Regions from separate parts of the Homo sapiens genome. Here regions 2, 3, 4, 5, 6 and 7 are each linked to region 1. Evidence: promoter capture Hi-C in human tissues and cell types (Jung and others, 2019). All regions are on one chromosome and are shown on one strand. The core of a region is centred on a gene start or on the middle of the fragment in contact, and the rest is flanking DNA. Distances in the headings are between cores, read along the strand shown. Region 1 holds the start of ZNF808 (zinc finger protein 808). Region 2 overlaps ZNF614 (zinc finger protein 614). Region 3 has its middle 6.9 kb from the start of ZNF816-ZNF321P. Region 4 has its middle 11 kb from the start of ZNF841. Region 5 has its middle 7.5 kb from the start of ZNF468. Region 6 overlaps ZNF468 (zinc finger protein 468). Region 7 holds the start of ZNF600 (zinc finger protein 600).

Region 1 (2,738 bases), core at 163-2,662:
AAGCAAAGTAAAGAATATTTCTTGGGCCAGGCATGTTGGCTGACGCATGTAATCCCAGCATTTTGGGAGGCTGACACAGGCAAATAACTTAAAGTGAGGAGTTCGATACCGGCCAGGTCACCGTAGTGATACCCCGTCTCTATGAAAAATACAAAAATTAACCGGGCATCGTGGCACGCGCCTGTAATGCCAGCTGCTCCCGAGGCTGAGGCAGGAGAATCGCTTGAACCCAGGAGGCAGAGGCTGCATTGAGTTGAGATCTCGCCACTGCACTCCAGCCTGGGCAACAGAAATACTGTGTCTCAATAATAGTAATAATAATAATAATAATAATAAAGTAATAGATCTCTTCCACAAATGTGCTGGGACAACTAACTGGATATCCACATGGAAAAGAGTAATGTTGGATCCCTATGTCACACCATCAAAAATTTTATTTAAAAAAGTTTTTTTTTTTTTTTTAAAAAGGGAAAAGGCCCGGGCGCGGTGGCTCACGCCTGTAATCCCAGCACTTTGGGAGGCCGACGTGGGCGGATCACCTGAGGTCGGGAGTTCAGCCTGGCTAACATGGTGAAACCCTGTCTCTACTAAATATACAAAATTAACTGGGCATGGTGGCGCATGCCTGTAGTCCCAGCTACTCGGGAGGCTGAGGCCGGAGTATCGCTTGAAACCAGGAGGCGGAAGTTCTAGTGAGCTGGGATCACTCCACGGCACTCCAGCCTGGGCGACGGAGTGAGACTCTGTCTCCAAAAAAAAAAAAAGGGAAAGAGAGAGAGAGAGACTAGGAAGGGAGACCTGCCGCAGTGGGTGTTACTTTGTCGCCCAGGCTGGCTTGGGACCCCAGGCTCAGCAATTCTCTCCGTTGCTTCCTGAGTAGCTGGGACCTGAGGCTCCCGCCCCCGCGCCTCTGCTGTGTTTAAGCAGCAGGTGGTGACCTCACTCCTTCCTGGCCTAAGCACTCCGTCCCGCACCCCTGGCGGTGGCTTTAAGGAAGTCTCTGAAGCTGAGCTCAGGGTGGACTCTCCCTCCCTAGTGAATGGAGATAGAAAGGGAGAGGACATCTATTCTGTTCCGTGGGCCGTCACCATGACATCGTACATGCCGCCCAGGCAGGGCTTTGCATTTCACATTCTAGTTTGCATCCCGGTTCCAGACAATTCCAGGGCTTTGGAATCATGCCTCAGACTTTCTGGCGCTCTCGCCTCCACAACCTAAAAACAGAGACGCTAGGAGAGAGGCTGAAAGACGCGCAAGTCCCGCCCCGGCCCCGCCCCGGCCCCGCCCTCTGCCGGTTCTAAAGGGCAAGGTCTCAGCGCCTCGCGCCCCGCCGCTACCTCGCCCAGGCCCCGCCCACCTCCTCCCACCTCCCGCCCAGGCCTGGCTTCCGTCCTGCGCGCGGAGATTAACGCAAACCCGGAAGCGGATCGGGTGGAGTGAAGGTCACGTCGCCATGGTGAGTTTTGCTCTGTGTTGCATTAAGTCTCCGCTTCCCAGGTCCCCGCCGCTTCTGTCCCTGGGACGTGGGGTCCCCACAGACCTGGAAATTCTCGCCCGTCTTCCTTCGCCCAGAGCAAATTGAGACAGCCCAGTGAGAGGCCGGGTGTCGCTTCCTTTCGGGTTTAAAGTCGTCTGGAGGCTGGTCCCGTCCCGGGTCTGTCTGCTATAGGGCAATGTATACACTTTCTATTGCGTAGTTTTTCTGCTCAAAACCTTCTTCTGACTCTTCCCTCCTCGCGCTATTTAAAGTCTTCACCCACGAGGTGGATTCTTGCCCGGGGCGCACCTCCCAGCCACCCCTCGTCGGCCCCTGGAGCGTCGCGCCGCAGCCCCAGTCCCAGGGAGGCCGCGTCCTCTGCCTGGTCCTGGGATCTTGCAGACCCCATCCTTCTCCCAAGGCGCCGTCCCCCCTCCTCCCACCTCCCTACTCGTGCCAGAGCCTGCGGCTCCCCAGGTCTCTCCTCCGCAGTCACCGCTTCCATTGAACCCACACTGGGAAGGACGCAGGGCCCTGTCCTGTGACATGGGGTCTTCTTGCCTGCCGAGCTCCAGCCCTTGGAAAACGCGCTCCTCCGGGATGCAGGCGTCTTACTCCAAACCCTCCTGCGATTGTGTGGGCCGAAGGGATCAGGAGACAGACAGCAGTAGAAAACCTGAGACAGAGAAAGAATAAGAAAGGCCCATAACAGATGGCAAAATAGAGGATTGGTGAGGGATATGCCAAGATATGGTGAAAGTGGAAAAAGAAAGCAACAAAATACCTAGAAAAGCAGGTGGAGAAAAGCAACTGGAGAAATGTAGAGAAAAGCTAGATGTACACAGAGATGAAGGACGGCAAGGTAGGGAGAGTGGCAGCAAAGAGGGAGGCTCATCAGAGTGAGGGAGAGAGGGAGGGATTTGGAGCCAGGGCAGACAGAGCAGAGTGGTGCTGGTGTCAAGGAGAACCGAGGGAGAAACACAGCAGGGAGGACACCTGGGGATCTGGGGTGACACAGAGTGGGGACAGGGGAGTATATCAGGGAAGAGAGAATTTAACAGGGAGAGCAGAGGAGGCGCAGAGATGGGTGAAGAGGCAGAAATAGATGGAGATTGAGGACGATTGAAAGATTGGGGAGAAGGAGCAATAAGAGGTTAAATAAGTTGCGAGGATGGAGCAGAAGAGATGGAAGAGAAGGAATAGAGGGAAGAAGGGGGATAAACAGCAGAAGAGAAGAGGGGTACAAAATGAAGAGCAGAAT
Region 2 (2,738 bases), core at 102-2,601, 510 kb before region 1:
AGAACTAAATACCTCAAATCTCAAATTCAGAAATCCCAACAAGTTCAGAGCAGGAAGTCACAACTGGTGTGACACATCAGACTGAAACTACCATACATCAAATGCAAAGGGAAAACTATAGAATCATCAAGAGACAAAAGACAGATTACCTACAAAGAAATAACAAAATATACTGATGGCTGACATTTCAATAATAGAATCCAGAAACGTATGGAATACAATCTTCAAAGTCCTAATTCTTGCAACAAAAAAGGCCAATTTTGGAAGGCCATTTGGGATTAAAACACATGGCTAGCAGATGACTTGCTGTCTTACAACCATGATATCAAGGACCTGTTTGTCAACTAAACTGTCATTCTCCTGCTTCACAATAACTTTTCAGAGAACTGCAGAGTGTGAAGTAGAGGTAACTAAGATCCAAGGAAATACTGATAAGAGAATCTATGCTATATTACTGTGTGGGATGCTGCATAGTCAAGAAAGTAGACTCATGAGAGTGCGCAAGTGCTCAAGCCTGGTCAGTTTATCTCATTCCAAAATCTTTATGTGAGATGTCTATCGACTGGGTAAGTGTAAAGTTAAATTTCTACCTCACTCCACAGTCCAAAAGAATTTATTACTGGATGGAAATCTTGCAGGCCAACTCTAAGGTGTCCTCTGATAATCTCATTCTCTAGCTGCAGTGACTTCTGACATCAACTACCTGGGTTAGGCCAAACTTCCCAGGTTAAAAGCACAATCCTCCACAAGACTGCCCTCACTTCAGACACAAGCTGCAAGCTTAAGGCTACACAGACCACCCTCAACTCCAGCGAGCTGGCTACAAATGTGTGGAGCTACCATGACTCCCTCAGGTTTAATAACTTGATAGAACAACTCAGAGAACCCAAGAAAGTGCTGTGTTTACAATTAGCACTTTACTATTGCAAAATGACACAAATCAGAATCAGCTAAAGGAAAATATGCACAGGGTGAGGTCTGGGAAGGTTCCAAACACAAAGCTGCTGACTGTCCTCTCCTCATGGAATCCTTGGTGGCATTACATCTTCCTGACTACATTGTGTAACAATATTCAAGAGTACTTGCCAGCCAGCGAGGCGCACCTAAACTTTGATGTCCAGAGATTTTATTGAGACTTCATGATGTAGGCACAGTTTATTGAAGCATTGCCCATGTAGCTGAGTTCAGTCTCCAGTTCCCTCCCCTTCCTGACTGGTATTACATGGCTCAAAGCCACAACTCTCTAATCACTTAGTGCGCTTTTTGGCATGGGCAGCCCCTATCCAGAGTCATGTCATTGCCATAAATTATCTAGGGATCTACTATGAGTCACCACTATACATATAGATATAAACTATCAAATATGAGTGGCCCACCATGAATGACAGAGACACTCATAACTTGGGTAATTACAAGGGTTTAGAGGTTACCTCCCAGGAACGAAAACAAAGGCTAGCCAAATTCTTTATTACACTCTAGGTGTTCCTGCCCCTGTGCAGTACCATCCTCCTGAGTATGAAGTGGCCTAAAAGCTTGTTTCTAAAGAAAAGAATACAGCAAAAGTGACAAGATGCCACTTTAAGATTACACTCTATATGACTTCCATCTTGCTAGCAGAATCTGTCATTTTCTAGCTTTGATTAAACAATTTGGCACATAGGGGAGGTGCATGTGACAAAAAACTAAAAGTGGGCTTTGACAAACAGACAGGTAGAAACTGAGGACCTCAACTAAACTACCTCATTTCTCATTCTGGAAATGAATCCTCCCAACAACCACATAAGTGAGCTTAGAACTGCATCTTTCCCCATTTCAGCCTTCAGATCAGATTCCAACCCAGCTAACACCTTGACGACAACCCCCATGAGAGACTGTGAATCAAAGTAGCCAGGTAAGCCATGCCCTTATTCCTGAGCCACAGAAAGTGTGAGATTTTTTTTTTTAAGTGTTGTTTCAAGTCACTACCTTTTGGAGTAATTTCTTAGGTATTAATAGACAATGAATATAAGATGTAAACTTAAGAAGAACTTATGAGGCCAGGAGTGGGGCACACATCTGTAATTACAGTACTTCCAGAGGAGAGTTTGAGCCCAGGAGTTTGAGACCAACCTGAGCAACATAGTGAGACTCTGTCTCTATTCTCTACAAAGAACAAAAAATTAGCTGGGTGTGGTAGTGGATGCCTGTGGTCTCAGCTATTCAGGAGGCTAAGGCAGGCAGATGGTGGTTGAGGCTGCAGTGAGCCATAATTGTGCTACTGCACTCCATCCTGGGGAAGAGGGCGAGTCCCTGTCTCAAATAAAGAAAAAAAAAAAAGGAATAAATGAAAACATGTTCATGATATAAGTAAAAAGCTTTAAAAAAAATGACTTCTGCATGGGAAAAAATATTTTGAACAAGCTAAAAGAGAAGTAAGACTCTAGAAAAATATTTGCAACATATAAAAGAATCAATATCCAGTCAAGATAAACAATTATAAATCAGTAAGACCACAAAAAAATTAAATGAACAAAGACTAAAGACACTTTATGACAGAATAAATAATCCAAAGAAACAACAAAGAGATGAGAAGGATCTGAACCTCACTGGTGAATGGGAAAATGCAAAATAAGGCAAAATAATACTGGATCATCTAGATCATGGAAAATACACAATTTGATAACATAGTAAGTGTTGGCAAGATTTGCAGCACTGAATGTTTTTGTGCAGTGTTTTCCAACACTAACAACCAATTCTCC
Region 3 (2,738 bases), core at 86-2,585, 440 kb after region 1:
CAAAAATTCGTTGAATTTTCATACATTAACAATAAACAATTTTAAATGAAAATTTAAAAACACTTCCATTTGCTAGAGAACTTAAAGTAAGAAATAGGAATAAATGGAAAGAAGTGAGAAATTCATACATTGAAATCTACAAACATTGATCAAAATGATTAAAAACATATATAAAGATATAACCCATATTGATGTTTTGGAAAAATTAATACTGTTAAATGATTACATAACCCAATGTGATTTTGATTCAACACAATACCCATAAAAATCTCTATCAGTTTTTGTTGAAGAAACAAAAAACAGACTGGGAAAGGTGCTCACCTCTGTTGGCCAGGCTGCTCTCAAACTCCTGATCTCAAGTGATCTACCTGTCTTGGCCTCCCAAAGTGCTGGGATTACAGGTGTGAGCCACCGCACCTGGCCTAATCCTCTTAACATAAACACTTTAATCTCAACAAATACTTGAACTCAATGTTAAGTCAACTCAAACTGAACTCAATGCTGATTTGAATCTAACATCAATTGTGCTTGATGGTTTGCTATACTCATTGCATTTGAAATTATTACCTCAAAAATGAATTTCCTGATGTCCTGCAAGGAGTGACCTCAGACTAAAGATCTTGCCACACATATGACTTTTGTAAGATCTCTGTCTAGTATGGATTCTCTGATGTGTAATGAGGCATGAACCTGAAATAAAGGCTTTGACACAATCATCACCCTTGTGAGGTTTCTTTCTTGTATGAATTCACCTGTGTTTTGCATAAGATGAAGCTTGACTGAAGACCTTGCCACAATCATCACATTTGTAAGGTTTCTCTCCAGTATGAGTTCGCTGATAAACTGCAAGGTATGAACGAAGTCTGAAAAATTTGCCACATTTATAACACTTGTAAGTTCTCACTTCATTATGCATTCTCCAATAATTTGCAATGGTTGTAGCATTACTGAGGACTTTGTGACAATCATTACATTAGTAAAGTTTCCCTATGACATGGATTGCTTGATGGTGAATAAGTGTTGACTGACCACTGAAGGCTCTGTCACACTCATCACACTTGCACGGTTTCTCTCCAGTGTGAATTCTAGTATGTTGTGCCAGGTGTGAATCACACCCGAATGCCTTGTCACAAACCTTACATTTCTATGGTTTCTCTCCAGTATGAACTCTCCTATGTATTTCAAGGCGTGAATTGAAATTGAAAACTTTGTCACATTCTTCACATTTGTAAGGTTTTTCTCCGATATGAACTCTATGATGATGTTCAAGGTTTGATTTTCAATTAAAAACCTTGCCACATTCATTACACTTGTAAGGTTTCTCTCCAGTATGAAGTCTATGATGACATGCAAGGTTTGATTTGTGATTAAAAACCTTGCCACATTCATTACACTTGTAACATTTCTCTCCAGTATGAATGACCTTATGCATTACAAGAGATGAATTTTGAACAAAGGTCTTGCCACACTCATTACACTTGTAAGGTTTCTCTCCAGTGTGAATTACAATATGTTGTGCCAGGTGTGAATCACGTCTGAAAGCCTTGTCACAAACCTTACATTTGTACGGTTTCTCTCCAGTATGAATTCTCCTATGTCTTTCAAGGTGTGATTAGCGACTAAAAACTTTGTCACATTCTTCACATTTGTAAGGTTTCTCTCCAGTATGAAGTCTATGATGACTTGCAAGATATGCTTTTTGATTAAAAACCTTGCCACATTCATTACACTTGTGAGGTTTCTCTCCAGTATGAATTGCCTTGTGAATTACAAGGGATGACTTGTAACTGAAGGTCTTGCCACACTGATTACACTTGTAAGGTTTCTCACCAGTGTGACATCTATGATGGTATGCAAGGTATCGCTTCTGATTAAAGACCTTGCCACATATATCACATTTATATTTTTTCTCTCCTAAATGGATTATCTGACATTTTTTTAACAGTGAGCTACAATTAAAGGCTTTGCCACTCTCATTACATTGGAAAGATTTTTCTCTCATGTGTGCTTCCTGGAGGAAATTATTCCCATACTTATTAGAAATATGGGTTTTAGGAATACAAGAAATTCTTTGGGATGCTGAAACTGAGGAAGCATCATTGACAGACTTCTCATCTTGACTATCAATTTTCCCTTTGCTCTGCAATATATGCAGTTCAGGCAGATGTGAATGAAAGCTTGATCCAAGCTGATCTTTAATAGGTTTGTTTCCAGCATGCCTTTGATCATATCAGTCTGTATTACCTGTCAACTTTTTTATCTCTGTCATGAGTGCTTCATGGCCATTTCTTTCATCTTCTTGCCACTGAAACTCAAAGTCCTGAAAATCTTTCTCAATTTCCTGGAAGGAAAAATCTCCAGTGTGATGACTTGCTTGTCTTTGCAATGTCCCTGTGTGGAACACTTCTGTATTGCCTTGCCTTCTTGATGAGAACTTCCTTGTCATGCATTTGGAAGAGATAGCTACAAAATATAAACAACAATAGGTTTCCAATTAAGTGCAGATGGTAAATAATACTGAAATATGTAACTAGGACACAAAAAACAATATTTATTTTGAAATTCCCAAACATGATTTTCAAAGTTTAAGAACACAAAAGGAGTAAGGTTCTTTAATAAATAAAGGGCGATTACAAGTCCTTTAAATCATTTCTACAGAAGCCTATTCCCAATATCATGACGAAACACTGACAGGGCACAAACATGTGTAAGCCTAAAGTAAGGAGTGTTTTTCCACT
Region 4 (2,738 bases), core at 118-2,617, 420 kb before region 1:
GTTTTAATAACAGCTGTCCTGAGACATTTTGTTGCCACAGGCAATTGTTGTCTTGTTTGGATCCTCTTCAAAAGTTGGTTTATAATCAGCTACAGGAATTTGATAGGTGCTCTGGAATGCAAGTTTCTGATAACTTTGGAAAATGTGACATTAGAATAGAGGAATAGAGGAAAGAACTTTCAAAACTTTCATGGATAACTAAAATGTTCATGAATATCAAACACAACACACATTAACTGCATGGACTGAACTAATAGGAGTCTAAAGTAATCTTTCTGATTTTTTCTTTTGATCCTTTGTTTTGTTTTGCAGAGTCAAGGAAACTTTTCTTTTGAGCTATTGACAGCAATTTTTTTTTTTTTTGAGACAGTTGCCCAGGCTGGAGTGCAATGGCATGATCTGGGTTCACTGCAGCCCCTGCCTCCCAGCCTCCCAGGTTCAAGCGATTCTCCTGCCTCAGCCTCCCAAGTAGCTGGGATTACAGGCACCCACCATCATGCCCAGGTAATTTTTGTAGAGACGGGGTTTCACCATGTTGGCCAGGCTGATCTCGAACTCCTGACCTAAGGTGATCCGCCCACCTTGCCTCCCAAAGTGCTGGGATTATAGGCATGAGCCACCGTGCCCAGCCGACAGCATTTAACAATTGAGGAAAGTATACTGCTGTGAAGAAAATTTGGAACATATTTGTTTCTCTCTACCTGCTTTCTCCAGAATTTGGAAACTATTTCTGAGTATTCTTTTTTTTTTTTTTTTTTTTTTTTGAGATGGAGTCTCACTCTGTTGCCAGGCTGGAATGCAGTGGCACGATCTTGGCTCACTGCAACCTCTGCCTCCCGAGGTCAAGCGATTCTCCTGCCTCAGCCTCCTGAGTAGCTGGGACTACAGGCATGTGCCAACACACCCAGCTAATTTTTGTATTTTTAGTAGAGACGGGGTTTCACCATGTTGGCCAGGATGGTCTTGATCTCTTGACCTCGTGATCTGCCTGCCTCAGCCTCCCAAAGTGCTGGGATTACAGGCGTGAGCCATGGCGCCCAGCTTACGTTTTTCAATTTTTATGATTTTCCACAGTTTGGACTGAATTCTAATTTTTTCCAGCTACATGTCTCTGAAATAATGTTTTCAATTTTTTCTTCTTTCTTTTCTTTTTTCCCCCATATTTTCTAATTTGAAATCACTGAAAACTAAACTGTATTTTCTTGAAGCCCTGATAACTGAAGCTAGACAACTTAAACTTCAGAAGAAAATAACAGCAACCTATTCACATACATAAGCCACTTTCATACCTATCTACTGATGTATGGACTTCAGAGTAATATGGCCTGTATCTATTTTCCAGGATTATTCTTTGTTTTTCTTCCTTCCTCCTGCTATTTTCTCTTCATAGGACACGACACTTTACAAACTGCTAAAAATGAGCTTTCCAAATAACATGGGACTTGCCCACCTGAAAATAAACTGTCCTAGCCATGAAGGATCAGATGAAACCTGATTTTTTTTTTTTTGAGACGGAGTCTCGTTCTGTCCCCAGGCTGGAGTGCAGTAACGTAATCTGGGCTCACTGCAACCTCTGCCTTGCAGGTTCAAGTGATTCTCCTGCCTCAGCCTCCTGAGTAGCTGGGACTACAGGCATGTGCCACTACGCCTGGCTAATTTTTGTATTTTTAGTAGAGATGGGGTTTCACCACGTTGGCCAGGATGGTCTCCATCTCTTGACCTCGTGATCCGCCCGCCTTGGCCTCCCAAAATGCTGAGATTACAGGCGTGAGCCACCGCACCCAGCCTCTCCCAAAGATTTTTAAAGGAGAAAAGGGGAAATGTGAAAGGAAAATAAATCTTGGCACCCAACACTCACTAAGCCAAAGGGAAAAGTCAAGCTGGGAACTGCTTAGGGCAAACATGCTTCCCATTCTATTCAAATCATCCCTCTGCTCACTGAGATAAATGTGTGTGATTGCTTCCTTTGAAAATGCTTACCAGAAACCCAAAAGAATGCAACCTTTGTCTTTTATCTACCCGATGACCTGGAAGCACCCTCCCTGCTTGGACTTACCCTGCCTTTCCAAACCAAACCAATGTGCATCTTACACATTAACTGATATCTCCTAAAAGTGTATAAAACCAAGCTGCGCCCCAACCACCTTGGGTATATGTGGCCAGGACCTCTTGAGGCTGTGTCACAGGCAAGCATCCTTAACTTTGGCAAATAAACTTGCAAAATTGACTGGAACAAAAGAAGTAATCTTCAGAGAAAATAAAAATAACAGGGAAAAACAGGGAGATTACATGATAAAAATGTCAACTTACAAAGATGATTTCAGAACCATCAGTGTGTATGCACTAAAAAACAGCTGCAAAACGTGAAGCAATAAGTGACAGAAGTGAAAGAAATACACAAATTTAGACTGAGCAAAGAGGATTATTAGGGTAGTCAAAGTACTCTGTATGTTACCATAATATGTGAATATGTGCCATTTTACAGTTGTCCAAACCCACACAATGTACAAGTGTGAGCCAACTATAAACTAGGGATGTTGGATGATAATCTACCACTTTGGTGGAGGATGTTGACAATGGGGAAGGCTATGCATATGTGGGGGAAGGAGCTATATGAGAAATCTCTGTACCTTCCACTGAATTTTGCTGGGAACCAAAAATTGCTCTACAAAGTAAAGTATATCATAGAAAAAAAATTGAATTAGAAAATAGGTTAAAAATATGAGAAATTTCACCGA
Region 5 (2,738 bases), core at 118-2,617, 340 kb after region 1:
GCGGTGGCTCAAGCCTGTAATCCCAGCACTTTAGAGGCCGAGGCGGGTGGGTATGGAGGTCAGGAGTTCGAGACGAGCCTGGCCAACATGGCAAAACCCTATCTCCACTAAAGATACAAAATAACATGCTGGGCATGGTGGCACGTGCCTGGAATCCCAGCTGTGTACATCAAAAGCACGTATGGGGCAAAATCACAAAAGAGAATACAAAACCAGGAAAAGCCAAGATACACAAGGACAGATTCTTCATGTCTGGAGGAACATTTTCCTCACCCACAGACTCCAGGTTCCTGTAGTTCTCCCACATCACAGCCCTGTATAAAGCGTTCTGTGCAGGGTCCAGGCGTTTCCACTCCAGCAAAGAGAACTCTATAGCCACATCTCTGAAAGTCAAGTATCCCTAAAATGAGAAACACGTTTAAATAAAACATTATGGAGGCGTTATCACCTTCACACGAAATGAGAAATGGGAAATTAAGTATCGATTGGGCCAAAGAATATGTTCTGACAAACCCGTATTAAGGTATTTTTGAACATCTTTTCTCTATCGTTGCATTTTATTGTACTTTTCCATGAGAGATTTCAAGATCCCCTAAGTAAAAAATTTACAAATAAAAACTAAATATAGTGTTTTCTCTATAAATACGTTAGATATTATGTTCAGCCTAACACTTGATATTCATTATCTGGATGAGCTAAAATACAAGTGCAGTCTCAGAGATGACAAAGTCCAGTGGCCTAAAGAAAAGAAAGTCAGGGCCAGCCATAGTGGCTCAAGCGTGTAATCCCAGCACGTTGAGAAGTGGAGGGAGGCAGATCACAAGGTCAAGAGTTTGAGATCAGCCTGAACAACATGGTGAAAACTCCTCTTCTCCCAGGAGGCAGAGGATGCAGTGAGCCAAGATAACATCAGTGCACTATAGCTGGAGCAACAGAGAGACACTCCATCTCAATAAAATAAAAATAAAAATTGGCCAGGTGCGGTGGCTCACGCTTTCAATCTCAGCACTTTGGGAGGCCGAGGCAGGCAGATCATGATGTCAGGAGATCGAGACCATCCTGGCTAACACAGTGAAATCCCGTCTCTACTAAAAGTACAAAAAATTAGCCAGGCGTGGTGGCAGGCACCTGTAGTCCCAGCTACTCAGGAGGCTGAGGCAGAAGAATGGTGTGAACCTGGGAGGTAGAGCTTGCAGTGAGCCGAGATCGGGCCACTACACGCCAGCCTGGGTGATAGAGCGAGACTCCTTCTCAAAAATAAAAAATAAAATTTTTAAAAAGGTGGGGCACAGTGGCTCATGCCTGCAATCCTGGCACTTTGGGAGGCAGAGGTGGGCAGATCACCTGAGGTCAGGAGTTGGAGACCAGCCTGGTCAAAGTGATGAAACAACGTCGCTACTAAAAATACAAAAATGAGCTGGGTGTGGTCGTGGGCACCTGTAATCCCAGCTACTGGGGAGCCTGAGGCAGAAGAATCGCTTGAACCCAGAAGGCAGAGGTTGCAGCAAGCTGAGATCGTGCTACTGGACTCCAGACTGGGTGAGAAGAACGGTACCCCATTTCAAATATATATATATGGTCTGGAGGGACATTTTCCTCACCCACAGACTCCAGGTTCCTGTAGTTCTCCCAAATCACGGCCCTGTATAAAGCGTTCTGTGCAGGGTCCAGGCTTTATATATATATATATATGTAATACATATATATATATTACATATATATATAATACATATATATTATACATATATATTTATATATTATACATATATATTTATATATGATTATACATATATATTTATATGATCATACATATATATTTATATGATTATACATATATTTATATATGAGATTATACATATATATTTATATATGATTATACATATATATTTATATATGATTATACATATATATTATATGATTATACATATATATTATACATATATTTATATATGATTATACACATATTTATATATATGATTATACACATATATTTATATATATGATTATACACATATATTTATATATATGATTATACACATATATTTATATATATGATTATACACATATATTTATATATGATTATACACATATATTTATATATTATACATATATATTTATATATTATACATATATTTATATATATGATTATACACATATATTTATATATGATTATACACATATATTTATATATTATACATATATATTTATATATTATACATATATTTATATATATGATTATACATATATATTTATATATTATACATATTTATATATATGATTATACATATATATGATTATACATATATTTATATATATGATTATACATATATTTATATATGTATGATTATACATATATTTATATATGTATGATTATACATATATTTATATATGTATGATTATACATATATTTATATATATGATTATACATATATTTATATATATGATTATACATATATTTATATATATGATTATACATATATATATATATAAAATCATAAGGCTGGATGCAGTTACTCATGCGCTGGGTGCAGTGACTCATGCCTGTAATCCCAGCAATCTGGGAGGCCGAGGTGGGCAGATCACCTGAGGTCAGAACTGTGAAACCCCTCCTGCAGGAACCCTCCACATACATGTAGTGAAGTCAACACACTCAGAGGCAGCCAGGGTGGCATTCTTGGTAACGGTGAAAAACTGGGAAGGACTCACACGTCTTCATTCAGAAAATGCTCCAAGGAGGA
Region 6 (2,738 bases), core at 145-2,644, 310 kb after region 1:
TGCTGGAATTACAGGCATGAGCCATGGCCCCCAGTGCAATCCTCTTAACATAAACAGTTTAATGGCAATTAATGCTTGAAATCAATGTTAAATCAACAAACTCAGGTCAAGGCTGATTTGACTCTAATGTCAATTAATGCTTGATGGTTTGCTATACTCACTGCATTTGAAACAACTGTCTCCAAAAGGAATTGTCTGATGGTCTGCAAGGAGTGACCTTGGACTGAAGACCCTTCCACACTGATGACATTTGTAAGATTTCTGTCCAGCATGGATTCTCTGATGTCTAATGAGGTGTGAATGTGAAGTAAACGCTTTGCCACAATCATCACACTTGTGAGGTTTCTCTCCTGTATGAATCCTCCTATGTTTTGCATAGGATGAAGCTTGACTGAAGACCTTGCCTCAATCATGACATTTATAAGGTTTCTCTCCAGCATGAGTTCACCAGTGAAATGCAAGGCATGAACGATGTCTGAAAAATTTGCCACATTTATTACACTTGTAAGATCTCTTCACTGTGGATTCTCCAATGATGTGCAATGGTTGTAGCATTACTGAAAACTTTGTGACAATCATTACATTAGTCAAGTTTCCCTATACCATGGATTGCTTGATGGTGAATAAGTGGTGACTGCCCACTAAAGGGTTTGCCACACTCATTGCACTTGTAAGGTTTCTCTCCAGTGTGAATTCTAGTATGGGGTGCCACGTGTGAATCATTCCCGAAAGCCTTGTCACAAACCTTACATTTCTATGGCTTTTCTCCAGTGTGAATTCTCCTATGTATTTGAAGCTGGATTTGTGAATGAAAACTTTGTCACATTGTTCACGTTTGTAAGATTTCTATGCAGTATGAAGTCTATGATGACTTGCAAGGTGTGATTGTTGATTAAAAACCATGTCACATTCATTGTGCTTGTAAGGTTTCTCTCCACTATGAATTACAAGGTGTGAATTTTGACCTTTTAATTACAAGGTGTGAATTTTGACCAACGGTCTTGCCACACTCATTACACTTATAATGAGTTTCTCTCCAGTGTGAATTCTAGTATGTTTTGCCAGATATGCATTATATGCAAAAACCTTGTCACAAACCTTACCTCTGTATGGTTTCTCTTCAATGTGAATTTTCTTATGTGTTTTAAGGTTTGATTTACAACTGAAAACTTTTGTCACATTCCTCCCATTTGTAAGGTTTCTCTCCAGTATGAAGTCTATGGTGATGTGCAAAGGTTGCTTTTTGATTAAAAACCTTGCCACATTCATTATGCTTGTAAGGTTTCTCTCCAGTATGAATTGCCTTATGACTTACAGGGTTGAATTGTGATGGAAGGTCTTGCCACACTCATTACACTATTAAGGCTTCTCTCCACTATGAAGCCTATGATGGTATACAAGGGATGACATCTGACTGAAGGTCTTGCCACACTCATTACACTTGTAAGGTTTCTCTCCAGTATGAAGCCTACGATGGATTATAAGCGATGATGTCTGACCGAAGGTCTTGCCACACTCATTACACTTGTAAGGTTTCTCTCCAGTATGAACTCTCTGATGTTGTGCCAGGTGTGAATCCCTCTGGAAAGCCTTGTCACAAACCTTACATTTGTATGGTTTCTCTCCAGTATGAATCCTCCTGTGTCTTTCCAGGTTTGATTTGCGACTGAAAACTTTGCAACATTCTTCACATTTGTAAGGTTTCTCTCCACTATGAATCCTCCTATGTCTTTCAAGGTGTGATTTGCGACTGAAAACTTTGTCACACTCTTCACATTTGTAAGGTTTCTCTCCAGTATGAAGTCTATGATGGCGTGCAAGGGTTGATAGTCGATTAAAAACTTTGCCACATTCATTACATGTGTAAGGTTTCTCTCCAGTGTGAAGTATAGTATGTTTTGCCAGATATGAATTATATGCGAAAGCCTCATCACAAACCTTACATTTGTATGGTTTCTCTCCAGTATGAATCCTCTTATGTCTTTCAAGGTGTGATTTGCGACTGAAAACTTTGTCACATTCTTCACATTCATAAGGTTTCTCTCCAGTATGAAGCGCTTTGTGAATGAAGAGGGATGAATTATGACCAAAGGTCTTGCCACACTCATTACACTTGTAAGGTTTCTCACCAGTGTGACATCTACGATGGCAGGCAAGGTATCGCTTCTGATTAAAGACCTTGCCACATACATCACATTTACATTGTTTCTCTTCTAAGTGAATTATCTGATGTTTTTTTAAGAGTGAGCTGCAATTAAAGGATTTGAAGCTCTGTATACATTCAAAAGATTTTTCTCTCATGTGTACTTCCCATTTTTGTGTGAGTAATGAAGAATGGAGGGAATTATTTCCATACTTATTAGAAATATGGGTTTTGGGCCTACAACAAATTCTTTGGGATGTTGAAACTGAGGAAGCATTGTTGATAGACTTCTCAACTTGATTACCAATTTTCCCTTCAGACTGAAATATGTGCGGTTCAGGCAGATGCAAATGAAAGCTTGATCCAAGCTGATCTTTAATACGCTTGTTTCCAGCATGCCTTTGATCATGTTGGCCTGTACTACCAGCCAACTCTTTGATTTCTGTCATGGGTGCTGCATGGCCATTTGTTTCATCTTCTTTCCACTGAAACTCGAAGCCATGAATGTCTTTCTCAATTTCATGGAAACAAAATTCTCCAATGTGATGACTTGCTTGTCTGTGCAATGTCCCTGTGTGGATCACTTCTGTATTGC
Region 7 (2,738 bases), core at 127-2,626, 260 kb after region 1:
AATTTTATATTTTTAATAGAGACGGGGTTTCTCCCTGTTGATCAGGCTGGTCTCGAACTCCGGACCTCAGGTGATCCACCCGCCTCAGCCTCCCAAAATGCTGGGATTACAGGCATGACCCACAGCGCCCGGTCCTTATTTAACCTCTTGTTGTTCTTTCTCCCCAATCTTTCAATCTTCCTCAATGTCTATATATTACAGCCTCTTCTCTTATCTCTCCGTCTCCTCTGCTCTCCCTATTAAATTCTCTCTTCCCTGTTATACCCCTCTGTCCCCACTCTCCAGCACCTCAGATCCCCAGGTGTCCTCCCTGCTGTGGTTCTCCATCTGTTCTTGCCACCAGCACCACTCTGCTCTGTCTGCCCTGGCTCCAAATCCCTCCTCCTCTCCCTCACTCTGGTGAGCCTCCCTCTTTGCTGCCCCTCTCCCTACCTTGCTGTCCTTCATCTTTCTGTACATCTAGCTTTTCTCTACATTTCTCCAGTTGCTTTTCTCCTCCTGCTTTCTTAGTTTTTTTTCTTTCACTTTTGCTGTCTCTTGGCAAATTCCTAACCCATCCTCTACTTTGCCATCTGTTATGGGCCTTTCTCATTCTTCTTTTCTCTGTCTCTGGTTTTCTACTGCTCTCTCAGTCCCTCTCTCTATCTCCTGATCCCTTTGGCCCAGGCGGGTTTGGAGTAATCACAGGCGGGTTTGGAGTAAGACGCCTGCATCCCGTAGAAGCGCATTTTCCAGGGGGTGGAGCTGGACAGGAAAGAACACCTGGTATCATAGGACAAGCCCCTGCGACCCACCCCAACCCTGGCTCAGGGGAAGCGAAGACTTGGGGAGCAGCAGGGCCCGGCACCAGGAGGGACGTGGTGGGCGACGGCACCCTAAGACAAAGGTGGGACCTGCAGGATCCCAGGACCAGGCAGAGGACGCAGCCTCCCCGGGGCTGGGGCCGGGGCGCCGCGCTCCAGGTGCCAACTGGGGCGAGGCTGGGAGGCGCCCAGGGCTGGAATCCACCTCGCGGGTGAGGACTTTAAAAAGCACGGGGCGGGAATAGTCAGAAAAATGTTTTGAGCAGGAAAAATACGCGATAGGAAGTGTATACATTGCCCTATAGCAGAAAGACCGGGGACGGGACCAGCCTCCGAGCGACTTCAAACCCAAAAGCAAGCAACTTCCAGACTCTTACCGGGACGTCTCAATTTGCTCTGGGTGAAGGGAAGACAGGCGAGAATTTCCAGGTCCGTGGGGATCCCACGTCCCAGGGGCAGAAGCGCCGGGGACCTGGGAAGTGCAGACTTAATCCAAGGCAGAGCAAAACTCACGCGCCGTGGTAGGACCTTCACTCCACGCGATCCGCTTCCGGGTTTGTGCGCGCCCAGGACTGAAGCCAGGCCGGGGCAGGTTGGCTGGACCTGGGCGGGGTAGAGGCGGGGCCCCAGGCGGAGAGACCTTGCCCTTTAGAACCGGCAGAGGGAGGGCCCGGGGCGGGACCTGTGCTTCTCAGCCTCGCACTCAGCGCCTCTGTTTTTCGAGTTTTTGGAGGCGACAGCGGCCAGGAAGGCTGAGGCATGATTCAAAAGCCCTGGAATTATCTGGAACGGGAATGCAAACTAGAATGTGAAATGCAAAGCCCTGCCAGGGCGGAACATACGATTTCATGCTGATGGCCCACAGAACAGAACAGAAATCCTCTCCCTTTCTATTCTCCATTCACTCAGGAGGGAGGGTCCACCCCGTGCTCAGCTTCAAAGTGTTCCCTAGGGCCTCCGCCTGGGATGCGGGACGGAGAGCTCAGGCCAGGGAGGAGTGAGGTCACCACCTGCTGCCTAAACACAGCAGGGATGCGGGCACGAGGCGGAAGCCTGAGGTCCCAGCTACTCAGGAAGCAGCGGCGGGAGAATCCCTGAACCTGGGGGTCCAGGCCATCCTGGGCGACAAAGTAACACCCCCTAACTGCAGGGTCCTCTTCCTGATCTCTCTCTCGCTCTTTTACTTTTTTTTTTTTTTTTTTTTTTTGAGACGGAGTCTCGCTGTGTCGCCCAGGCTGGAGTGCAGTGGCACGATTTTGGCTCACTGCAAGCTCCGCCTCCCGGGTTCACGCCCTTCTCCTGCCTCAGCCTTTCGAGTAACTGGAACTACAGGAGCCCGCCTAACCCAAACAAAAACAAGACCGGGCGCGCTGGCTCACACCTGTAATCTCAGCACTTTGGGAGGCTGAGGCGGGCAGATCATGAGGTCAGGAGATCGAGACCATCCTGGCTAACACAGTGAAACCCCATCTCTACTAAAAAATACAAAAAAATTAGCCAAGCGTGGTGGTGGGTGCCTGTAATCCCAGCTACTAGGGAGGCTGAGACAGGAGAATGGAGTGAACCCGGGAGGCGGAGCGTGCAGTGAGCCAAGATCGTGCCACTGCACTCCAGCCTGGGCGACAGAGCGAGGCTACGTCTCAAAAAAAAAAAAGAAAAAGAAAAAGAAAAAGAAATATCTCCCCTAGTTTGTCTCCTTTTCCAGAATTTACCAGATACCAGTACACAGATACCAGTGCATACATTAATGTATGACTTTCATACATAGATTCTCTGATCTGATCCACAAAGAGCTAAATGTGCATCCAGATGTGGCCCCTGAACAATCCCTGCTGCCCAATATCACTGACACCTTGGGGTCCACACCCCATCTCCATCCATCTCTGGTGTGAGCCCTTCCCAGGACCATGCCCAGTGCAGCCTCTTCCCAAGCTC

The links. Contacts are between HindIII fragments. The study calls those that stand out against the background at their distance.
Region 2: a contact is called between a fragment that was not itself captured here and the fragment with the promoter of ZNF808 in region 1, in 1 of the 25 tissues and cell types used here (dorsolateral prefrontal cortex).
Region 3: a fragment that was not itself captured here is called in contact with the fragment with the promoter of ZNF808 in region 1 in 3 of the 25 tissues and cell types used here (H1 embryonic stem cells, lymphoblastoid cells and mesendoderm cells).
Region 4: a contact is called between a fragment that was not itself captured here and the fragment with the promoter of ZNF808 in region 1, in 1 of the 25 tissues and cell types used here (adrenal gland).
Region 5: a contact is called between a fragment that was not itself captured here and the fragment with the promoter of ZNF808 in region 1, in 1 of the 25 tissues and cell types used here (spleen).
Region 6: a contact is called between a fragment that was not itself captured here and the fragment with the promoter of ZNF808 in region 1, in 6 of the 25 tissues and cell types used here (aorta, bladder, dorsolateral prefrontal cortex and 3 more).
Region 7: the fragment with the promoter of ZNF600 here is called in contact with the fragment with the promoter of ZNF808 in region 1 in 1 of the 25 tissues and cell types used here (mesenchymal stem cells).

The regions. Positions count from the first base shown.
Region 1 is chr19:52,526,256-52,528,993 of GRCh38, forward strand. ZNF808 (zinc finger protein 808) reads left to right here and starts at 1,413. Exons shown (of 5, transcript NM_001039886.4): 1 at 1,413-1,456. RefSeq lists enhancers at 32-858, 859-1,686. The HindIII fragment of the contact is 14,459 bases long and covers 1-2,738 here.
Region 2 is chr19:52,019,435-52,022,172 of GRCh38, forward strand. The region is part of intron 2 of ZNF614 (zinc finger protein 614); the gene reads right to left. It overlaps LOC124904755 (a long non-coding RNA gene), which reads left to right. Exons shown (of 2, transcript XR_007067321.1): 2 at 1,817-2,738. Among named protein-coding and RNA genes, the nearest start is that of ZNF614, 7.6 kb to the right of the region's middle. The HindIII fragment of the contact is 3,065 bases long and covers 1-2,738 here.
Region 3 is chr19:52,968,380-52,971,117 of GRCh38, forward strand. It overlaps the pseudogene ZNF702P. Among named protein-coding and RNA genes, the nearest start is that of ZNF816-ZNF321P, 6.9 kb to the left of the region's middle. The HindIII fragment of the contact is 4,137 bases long and covers 1-2,738 here.
Region 4 is chr19:52,105,416-52,108,153 of GRCh38, forward strand. No RefSeq gene overlaps it. Among named protein-coding and RNA genes, the nearest start is that of ZNF841, 11 kb to the left of the region's middle. The HindIII fragment of the contact is 6,263 bases long and covers 1-2,738 here.
Region 5 is chr19:52,863,760-52,866,497 of GRCh38, forward strand. It overlaps a transcript of ZNF320 not described here. Among named protein-coding and RNA genes, the nearest start is that of ZNF468, 7.5 kb to the left of the region's middle. The HindIII fragment of the contact is 8,657 bases long and covers 1-2,738 here.
Region 6 is chr19:52,839,366-52,842,103 of GRCh38, forward strand. ZNF468 (zinc finger protein 468) reads right to left here. Exons shown (of 4, transcript NM_001008801.2): 4 at 1-2,738. The coding sequence ends at 1,360. Among named protein-coding and RNA genes, the nearest start is that of ZNF468, 17 kb to the right of the region's middle. The HindIII fragment of the contact is 4,505 bases long and covers 1-2,738 here.
Region 7 is chr19:52,785,415-52,788,152 of GRCh38, forward strand. ZNF600 (zinc finger protein 600) reads right to left here and starts at 1,377. Exons shown (of 6, transcript NM_001321866.4): 1 at 1,181-1,377. RefSeq lists enhancers at 337-1,195, 1,196-2,053 and a silencer at 1,386-1,535. The HindIII fragment of the contact is 28,786 bases long and covers 1-2,738 here.